Linked DNA regions of Homo sapiens: region 2 is linked to region 1. Evidence: promoter capture Hi-C in human tissues and cell types (Jung and others, 2019). All regions are on one chromosome and are shown on one strand. The core of a region is centred on a gene start or on the middle of the fragment in contact, and the rest is flanking DNA. Distances in the headings are between cores, read along the strand shown.

What was found. The method cuts DNA at HindIII sites, captures the fragments that hold promoters and counts their contacts. A contact is called where the count stands out against the background at its distance.
Region 2: a fragment that was not itself captured here is called in contact with the fragment with the promoter of PROB1 in region 1 in 1 of the 25 tissues and cell types used here (dorsolateral prefrontal cortex).

Annotation. Positions count from the first base shown.
Region 1 is chr5:139,393,854-139,398,542 of GRCh38, reverse strand. It overlaps PROB1 (proline rich basic protein 1), which reads left to right and starts at 3,439. Exons shown (of 1, transcript NM_001161546.2): 1 at 3,439-4,689. The coding sequence starts at 3,462. It overlaps SPATA24 (spermatogenesis associated 24), which reads left to right. Exons shown (of 6, transcript NM_194296.2): 5 at 1,400-1,502; 6 at 1,614-1,776. The coding sequence ends at 1,743. RefSeq lists a silencer at 3,924-4,213. The HindIII fragment of the contact is 5,508 bases long and covers 2,954-4,689 here.
Region 2 is chr5:138,761,922-138,766,090 of GRCh38, reverse strand. The region is part of intron 1 of CTNNA1 (catenin alpha 1); the gene reads right to left. Among named protein-coding and RNA genes, the nearest start is that of CTNNA1-AS1, 10 kb to the right of the region's middle. The HindIII fragment of the contact is 4,511 bases long and covers 1-4,169 here.

The DNA of each region.
Region 1 (4,689 bases), core at 2,190-4,689:
GGAGTGCAGGGGCACAGTCATAGCTCATTGCAGCCCCCAACTCCTGAGCTCAAGTGATCCTCTTGCCTCAGCAAGTAGCCAGGACTATAGGCATGTTCCAACACCATGCCCAGCTAGTTTTTTGTTTTTTTTTTTTTTAGTTTTGTAGAGGCGAGGTCTCACTATGTTGCCCAGACTGGTCTCTTACTCCTGGGCTCAAGCCATCCTCCTGCCTCAGAAAGTCATCTTTGCCTCAAATGTACGATTAATTTGGGGGTAGGCTTTGCCACCACTATCTCACTGGGTCCTCCCCAGACCACTGTGGGATAGGGCTGTCTCTTTCCCCATCTTTGAAATGAGGAAACAGGTCTGAAAATCGAGGCAACTCCCATCTTCTCCCACCACCCCTGAAGCCCTAGCACAAGGCTGGGCATCCAGCCAGCCCTCGGGAAGTTTGTTTGGACTGGGATGACTGAACTAGGTCTTTTTTCTGAGTCCTAAACCCCCAGGGACATCCCGTTCATTCGGTCTGCAAATATACTTTTTGTATACCTACTATGTGCCAGGTGCTGTTTTAGGCCTTAGGGATAAAGCCGTGAATAAAACAAAGATCCTTGTCCTTGTGGACCTTACATCCCAGCAGCGGAGAAGACAGATGAGTAAAGTATATGGTATGTTAGGTAAAAGTGTTAAGAAAAATAAAGCAGGATGTTGGGCATGGTGGCTCACGCCTGTAATCCCAGCATTTTGGGAGGCTGAGGTGGGTGGATCACCTGAGGTCAGAAGTTCGAGACCAGCCTGGCCAACATGGTGAAACCCCATCTCTACTAAAAATACAAAAATTAGCTGGGCGTGGTGGCAGGCGCCTGTAATCCCAGCTACTCGGGAGGCTGAGGCAGGAGAATTGCTTGAACTCAGGAGGTGGAGGTTGCAGTGAGCCAAGATCATGCCACTGCACTCCAGCCTGGCGACAGAGCAAGACTCAGTCTCAAATACAAAAAAAAAAAAAAGAGAAAGCAGGAAGAGGGAACAGGAAGTACTGGGAAATGTAATTTTTTGATGAGGGAGAGTTTCTCCAAGGAGGCAACATCTGTAAAGACCTGCAGGAGTTGAGGGCAGGCGCCATTCATCTTCCAGCCTTTGGTCAGGCCTGCCCACTTCTCTCCAAGGACCTTCTCCTGCCCTCATGTGGGTCCTCTGGTCCAGAATAGACTTGTGAAGTCATTGACAACAATCCTCAAACACTGCACTCCCCCAAGACTGCATAATAAACTCATTCATACTAAGGTATTAGCAGTTCTTCATGGAGAACTCTTGGGTGGGGAGCCAAGCTCTGAAAAGCCCCGTGAGGGAATGCCTTATCTCAGGAAGGAGCCCTGGGATGGGAACCACCCCTCCTCCCTGCCTCTCTCCCCCACAGAGATTGAGTCTCACATTATAAAGCAAGAAGATATACTTAATGGCAAAGAGAATGAGATTAAAGAGTTGCAGCAAGTTATCAGCCAGCAGAAACAGATCTTCAGGTGAGGGGTCTGGGCCCGGCTGGGGGTTGTTGATGACACTGGGGAGCCAGACCTCTGGCCCCTACCTACCCTTGGCTGTCCACAGCCCACCACCAGCCGGCTCCGTTGCAGGAATCACATGTCTGACTTCCGGATCCAGAAGCAGCAGGAGAGCTACATGGCCCAGGTGCTGGACCAGAAGCATAAGAAAGCCTCAGGGACACGTCAGGCCCGCAGCCACCAGCATCCCAGGGAAAAATAAAATGGCCGCCGCTTTCCTGTTCTCTGGCTGTAATCCCCAGCCTCTGCCTTCTCTGCTCTGGGAGTCCCCAGCCTCTAGCCCCTGCTACTTCCCTCCCTCTTGGATAGTGGTAGGGGTCCACAAGGTGGGGGCTTGTAGCCTAGGGGAGGAGCTGGGTCTTTGTTGTCTGGTAGGCACCACCGCTTCCTTTGGGTATTTAATCCCTTCCTATATAAACAGCCCTGGTTACCCAGTAATATTCCACCCCACTCCCAGTGTCCTGGTAAATTTAACTTCCCAACTTGACTACAGGGCCGGAAGCCCTGACCAGAAACTTCAAAGACAGTGGGTTCCAGAACCACAAGGAATTTGGGAAGTCAGTTTCCATCACATGACAATAATGTTATACCTGCAAATTGCATTTGCACCTGCTGACACCTCCCCCAAACGGGAGCTTCACAATGGGAGGAAGAGAAAAGACAATGCTGTGTGTGGTTTTAAGGTGGAGAAACAATCTGGGAAGGGACCTCAATTTGCACAAGTTGCACAGGCAGGGCTGGATGGGATGGAGCAGCAACATTTTTTCAGAAGCCATCACCGAGTGCCCCCTAGGTGATCATGGGGACACACCCAGGCAGAGGACCCACTTCAGGGGTCAGATTAGCCCAGTGTAGCCTGTCCTGGGTCGGTTTGAGGCCAAGTGCACAGGAGGGGGCAGTGCTCTTGCTCCAGGGCCAGCTGGGGCCTGAGTCATAGCAGGACCTTGAAGCCAGAAGTTTAAGGGCAAGTGGTGCCCACAGTTGTAAGACAATGACAGGTGGTGGTTGCCTCCCCACCAGCGCCTGTCCCCAGGGCAGGTCCTAAGGCTGTGGGGGCTGAAGTTAGGGCCTTGTGAATACCTGGGGGAGCACAGGGCTGTTCTGGCCGCAGGGGCCTTTGGAGCTGGGACCACAAGCTACTTCGAAGCTTCCTGTAGGACCCCACATCGGTATCCAGGGCCTGTTCTAGGTGCTGAGGCAGACTGAAAGCTAGAGCTGTCCACTCCAGCTCCTTCCAATAGGTCCCACCGAGGGCAGTGGGTCCAGCCAGTGGTAGTACCTTCCTGAGGCCCTGAGGAGTCAGGGAAGCCTCTAGCGGTGCTCCTCACTCTACTGAAGGGGATCAGGAAGAGTGTAACTGGGGTCAAGAAAGGTGGTGTGTGCACCCTTAAGAGCTCTAGCTGAGGCCAGCAATGGCAATGGGGGTCCCCTGCAGTGATGCTAAGGCACCCGGGGCTGAGGGGAAGATGAAATTGCTGGCCCTACCTGAGTCTCCTGGCCTGAAGGTCTGGTTCACCCGCTCACAGCCTGAACTGCACACAGCAGTGCCTGACTTCAGGCGGATCCCTGCTGGGCTTCAGTTTCCTCACCTGTGATAGGTGGAGTTGGGCCTAACTCCTGGCTCCAAGGCTTTGAAAGTTGGGCCTGCCATTCCCTCACCTGCCTGTCAGCCAAAGCTTGGAGCCCACCCCAGGTACTCCGGCTTGTGCCTGAGAAGGGGGTTAGTTGGGCATGGGGGCTGGACAGGGAAGGGTGCAGGGCCCAGGTCTTTTCTGCTGCCGGCGCCGCTGGCTCAGGAGTGGACGCGGCCGCTTTAAGGCGCGGTGACCCCCACGGCATCCTCGGGCGGGGCGGGGACAGTGCCGGCGCCACCAGCGGAGGCGAATGCGAGGGAGATAGTGCACGGCGTCCGGCCCCACCATGCTGACCGCGCTCGCCCCGCCAGCCCTGCCTGGGATCCCGAGGCAGCTGCCCACGGCCCCCGCGCGGCGCCAGGACTCCTCCGGTTCGTCAGGCTCCTACTACACGGCTCCAGGTTCTCCGGAGCCCCCGGACGTTGGGCCGGACGCGAAAGGCCCAGCGAATTGGCCCTGGGTGGCTCCTGGGCGGGGGGCGGGCGCGCAGCCTCGCCTGTCCGTCAGCGCCCAGAATAGCCGCCAGCGGCACGGGCCCGGCTCGGGTTTCCCGCGAGGCCCAGGTTCCGGCCCACGGCCACCCCAGCCCCAGCTGCGCACGCTGCCGTCGGGGGAGATGGAAGTCATCTTCGGCGTCGGACCCCTGTTCGGCTGCTCCGGCGCAGACGATCGCGAGGCGCAACAACAGTTCACGGAGCCGGCCTTCATCAGCCCCTTGCCGCCGGGGCCAGCGTCTCCCGCCGCGGTCCCACGCCAGTCCCAGGTCCCCGATGGTGGCTCCCGCTGGGCCACCTACCTAGAGCTGCGGCCCCGTGGGCCAAGTCCTGCCGCCCCAGCGCAGTTCGAGTGTGTGGAGGTGGCTCTGGAGGAGGGCGCCGCGCCCGCCAGGCCCCGGACAGTGCCCAAGCGTCAGATCGAGCTGCGCCCCCGGCCCCAGAGTCCCCCAAGGGCGGCCGGCGCGCCGCGCCCCCGGCTGCTCCTGCGCACCGGTTCCCTGGACGAGTCGCTGGGCCCCCTGCAGGCCGCCGCGGGCTTCGTGCAGACGGCGTTGGCCAGAAAACTGAGCCCCGAGGCCCCGGCCCCGAGCAGCGCCACCTTCGGGTCCACGGGGCGGTCGGAACCTGAGACCCGGGAAACGGCCCGCAGCACCCACGTGGTCCTGGAGAAGGCTAAGTCTCGGCCACTTCGCGTACGAGATAATTCGGCCCCCGCCAAGGCCCCGAGGCCGTGGCCCAGCCTCCGCGAGCGCGCGATTCGGCGCGACAAGCCTGCGCCCGGGACGGAGCCGCTGGGTCCTGTTAGTTCCAGCATCTTCCTTCAGTCAGAGGAGAAGATCCAGGAGGCGCGGAAGACTCGGTTCCCGCGAGAGGCGCCGGATCGAACTGTTCAGAGGGCACGGAGTCCGCCTTTTGAGTGTAGGATCCCCTCGGAGGTTCCGAGTAGGGCTGTGAGGCCAAGGAGCCCGTCCCCGCCACGGCAGACTCCAAATGGGGCTGTACGGGGTCCTCGCTGCC
Region 2 (4,169 bases), core at 952-3,451, 630 kb after region 1:
AACTTTCATCTAATCTAACACTCTATACATGTTTAACTGAATTAGCTCAACTGCTCTATGCACAAAGAAATAAGAAACATCTCTCATGACAGATTAGCAAAAAGTGGGTATAAACTGCCTTTTTTTTTTTTTTTTTTTTTTTTGAGACAGAGTCTCACTCTATCGCCAGGCTGGAGTGCAGTGGCGCGATCTTGGCTCACTGCAACCTCTGCCTCCCAGGTTCAAATGATTCTCCTGCCTCAGCCTCCCAAGTAGCTGGGACTACAGGCATGCACCACCATGCCCAGCTAATTTTTATATTTTTAGTAGAGATGGGGTTTCACCATGTTGGCCAGTATGGTCTCGATCTCTTGACCTCGTGATCCACCTGCCTCGGCCTCCCAAAGTGCTGGGATTACAGGCATGAGCCACCTCGCCCAGCGCCAATTCTTACCTATCAGCTATTTTACCAAACCTGATCTCCTGAGTTCATAAATTTCCTGGGGTTAGCAATGGTGGCTTACACATTAACATCCCTCCAGCACACAGCACACTGCTTTGCAAGGCAGACTTAATAAATGAACTGTATTTAAGTGAGCCTTTCCTGATGCAATTGAGATACAGCAAAATGGCCAGGCACAGTGGCTCTCACCTATAATCCCAGCACATTGGGAGGAAGAGGCTGGTGGATCACTTGAGGTCAGGAGTTCAAGACCAGCCTGGCCAACATGGTGAAACCTCGTCTCTACTAAAAATAAGAAAATTAGCTGGGGCCGGGCGCGGTGGCTCACGCCTGTAATCCTAGCACTCTGGGAGGCCGAGGCGGGCGGATCACCTGAGGTCAGGAGTTTGAGACCAGCCTGGCCAACCTGGTGAAACCCCATCTCTACTAAAAATATGAAAATTAGCTGGGCGTGGTGGTGGGTGCCTGTAATCCCAGCTATTTGGGAGGCTGAGGCAGGAGAATCACTTGAACCTGGGAGGCGGAGGTTGCAGTGAGCCGAGATCATGCCATTGCACTCCAATCTGGGGGACAGAGCAAGACTCCGTCTCAAAAAAACAAAAAGAAAACAAGCTGGGCATGGTGGCAGGCACCTGTAATCCCAGATACTCGGAAGGCTGAGGCAGAAGAATCGCTAGAATCCTGGAGCCAGAGGCTGCAGTGAAGAGAGATCGCATCACTGCACTCCCACTCCAGCATGGGCGACAGGGCGAGATCTCAAAAAAAAAAAAAAAAAAAAAAGAGAGAGATACAGCAAATTACTGCTTTAGACTAACTCAAAGCAACTAGAAAACATCACATCTTTCACTGGTCTTAAAGACCCGAAATAAATGTCATCTGGCCAGGTACAGTGGCACACACCTATAATCCCAGCACTTTGGGAGGCTGAGGTGGGCGGATCACCTGAGGTCAGGAGTTCGAGACCAGCCTGACCAACATGGAGAAACCCCGTCTCTAATAAAAATACAAAATCAGCCAGGCGTGGTGGTGCATGCCTGTAATCCCAGCTACTCGGGAGGCTAAGGCAGGAGAATCGCTTCAACCCAGGAGGCAGAGGTTGCGGTCAACTGAGATCATGCCACTGCACTCCAGCCTGGGCAACAAAAGCAAAACTCCGTCTCAAATTAAAAAAAAAGAAAAAAGTTGCCATCTTCCATTTCCACTTTTTTTTCCCTCCCAAGGGATCAAACTCACATTTCACTTAGTTACCTCTCTGCAAAATGGAAGGTTTCTTTTTTTTGTTGAGACAGAGTTTCACTCTTGTTGCCCAGGCTGGAGTGCAATGGCACGATCTCAGCTCACTGCAACCTCCGCCTTCCAGGTTCAAGGGATTCTTCTGCCTCAGCCTCCCGAGTAACTGGGATTACAGGCATGTGCCACCATGCCCGGCTAATTATTTTTTTGTTTTTTGTTTTTTGTTTTTTTGAGACAGATTCTCGCTCTGTCACCCACGCTGGAGTGCAATGGCACAATCTCAGCTCACTGCAACCTCCACCTCCCGGGTTCAAGCAATTCTCCTGCCTCAGACTCAGGAGTAGCTGGGATTACAAGTGTGAGACACCGCGCCCTGCAATTTTTTGTATTTTTAGTAGAGACGGTGTTTCTCCATGTTAGTCAGGCTAGTCTTGAACTCCTGACCTCAGGTGATCTGCCCGCCTCCCAAAGTGCTGGGATTAAAGGCGTGAGCCACCGCACCCAGCCTAAATGGCAGGTTTCTAAAGACACACTTAAAAGTCAGTCCAAAGCTTTTCTAAAAATATGATAACCCAGGTCCACAGACGCAAGAGAATGACAACAAATGAATCCCTCATGAAACCTTTTGCCAATTTAGAGATCCCCAGGAATATAAAACCCACAAACACTGTTTCATCAGTAATAGTAACATGCTTCTCCCTTTTAGCCTCTAGCTTATTCACTGCACCATCATATTTCACAAACCATGATTTAGAATTTGGATTGTAAACTCAGGCCAGGCACAGTGGCACATGCCTGTAATCCTAGCACTTTGGAGGCCAAGGTGGGCAGATCGCTTGAGTTCAGGAGTTCAAAGATCAGCCTAAGCAATATGGTGAGACCTGTCTCTACTAAAAATGTAAAAAATTAGCTGGGTGTCGTAGTACACACCTATGGTCCCAGCTATTCAGAAGGCTGAGGTGGGAGGATGGCTTGACCCTGTCTCAAAAAAAAAGCTTGGATTAATATTGAAATATTGAATCTAATGAAATATTCAACATACCATGAGAGAATGGTAACAATGCATCTTTGCCTAGAAAGAATGCATGTAACAGAGCCGCACAGGGCAAATGCACTATCAAAGGCTCAATCCTTCAATTAACTTGAAATGGGCCATAGTGAATGTGTTTTCTGAGTTATAACAGCACTTTCATTTTCAAGAACAGTCTGTATGTAGTCTAACCTAGTTAATAAATACAGGATTATGTAACTTGGTAATTAACCAGGTTTCCAACTCACATCTTCAATTCAGAATGTCAAATACTGACAAAAAAAAACATAGCAATAAGACACTTTCAAGAGAGTTGATGAGCCACTTATTTTTGACAATATTTAATAATGAAACCTCAAAACAAGAAAATGAAGGAAATTCACAGCTTGATATGATGGAATCAAATAGTCAAAACTAAGCAATCTAGGGAAAAAATTAGCCTTTAAATTAGCAATTAAGAAAGATAAATTTTTCTTCTGTTAAGCCCTTTTAGTCTAAAAAGAAAAAAAAACCTCTTAGAGACAAAAATTACATTAGCTTCCACAATATAGTTCCATCCCTCCTTTTAATAAAATGGGAACATGAAAAAAATGACAGACATTTTAAAAATCACTTCACACTACTCATACAATATTGTTCAAAATGAGCAAATGTTACAAGTATTTAGAACATCCGAAGTTGCCCTGTGAACTGTATTTACATTACATGCATTACTCCAAACTTACAGCTGGTAAAAAAAAAAAACCACAAATTAAATCCCAATCAAAAAGAGGGGTTGATCGATGACAGCCCATCAACAAGTAAGTGGAAATACATGCTAATTTCAAGCTCCATTAGAAATGGAGTTGTGGCATACTTCCACATGGAGAAAAATAAGTTTGATAGTTATAAAAAAAAACTAAAGAAAATAATGAACATTTAAGGCTCTAACAGAGAAAGGGCAATGTTGACATTTTATTTTTGAAGTGTGGTTCTTTGCACACTTGGAACTTTCAATAATGGATAATTCAGTATAGTGCTCTCACAAGTGAGCAAACAGCATGAGACAAGGCAAGTCACGCTGGACTAATTCCCCACACTGTTCAGTCCATTCAATCCAGGCCCACAACATGTGGGGGACAGGGCAGATCACCAAGCAGTACATGTAATATCTTCAAGGTCTGGAAGCAGGCATACTGGTACCCAGGCAAGTTTCAGAAAGTGCTGCTCTATGAGACTCTTCCAGATGTGTTTTAACTTTTTCCTTACAGAAAACAGAAGCTGCTAATAAGACTTAAATCCTCCAACATGCATAGAATAATAACCTAAATTTCTTTAGGACTTCAAAGTGGGCCAGGCGCAGTGGGTCACGCCTGTAATCTCAGCTCTTTGGGAGGCCAAGGCAGGTGGATCACTTGAGCTCAGGAGTTTGAGACCAGCCTGGGAAACACGGTGAAACTCTGTCTCTACAGAAAACACAAAAAT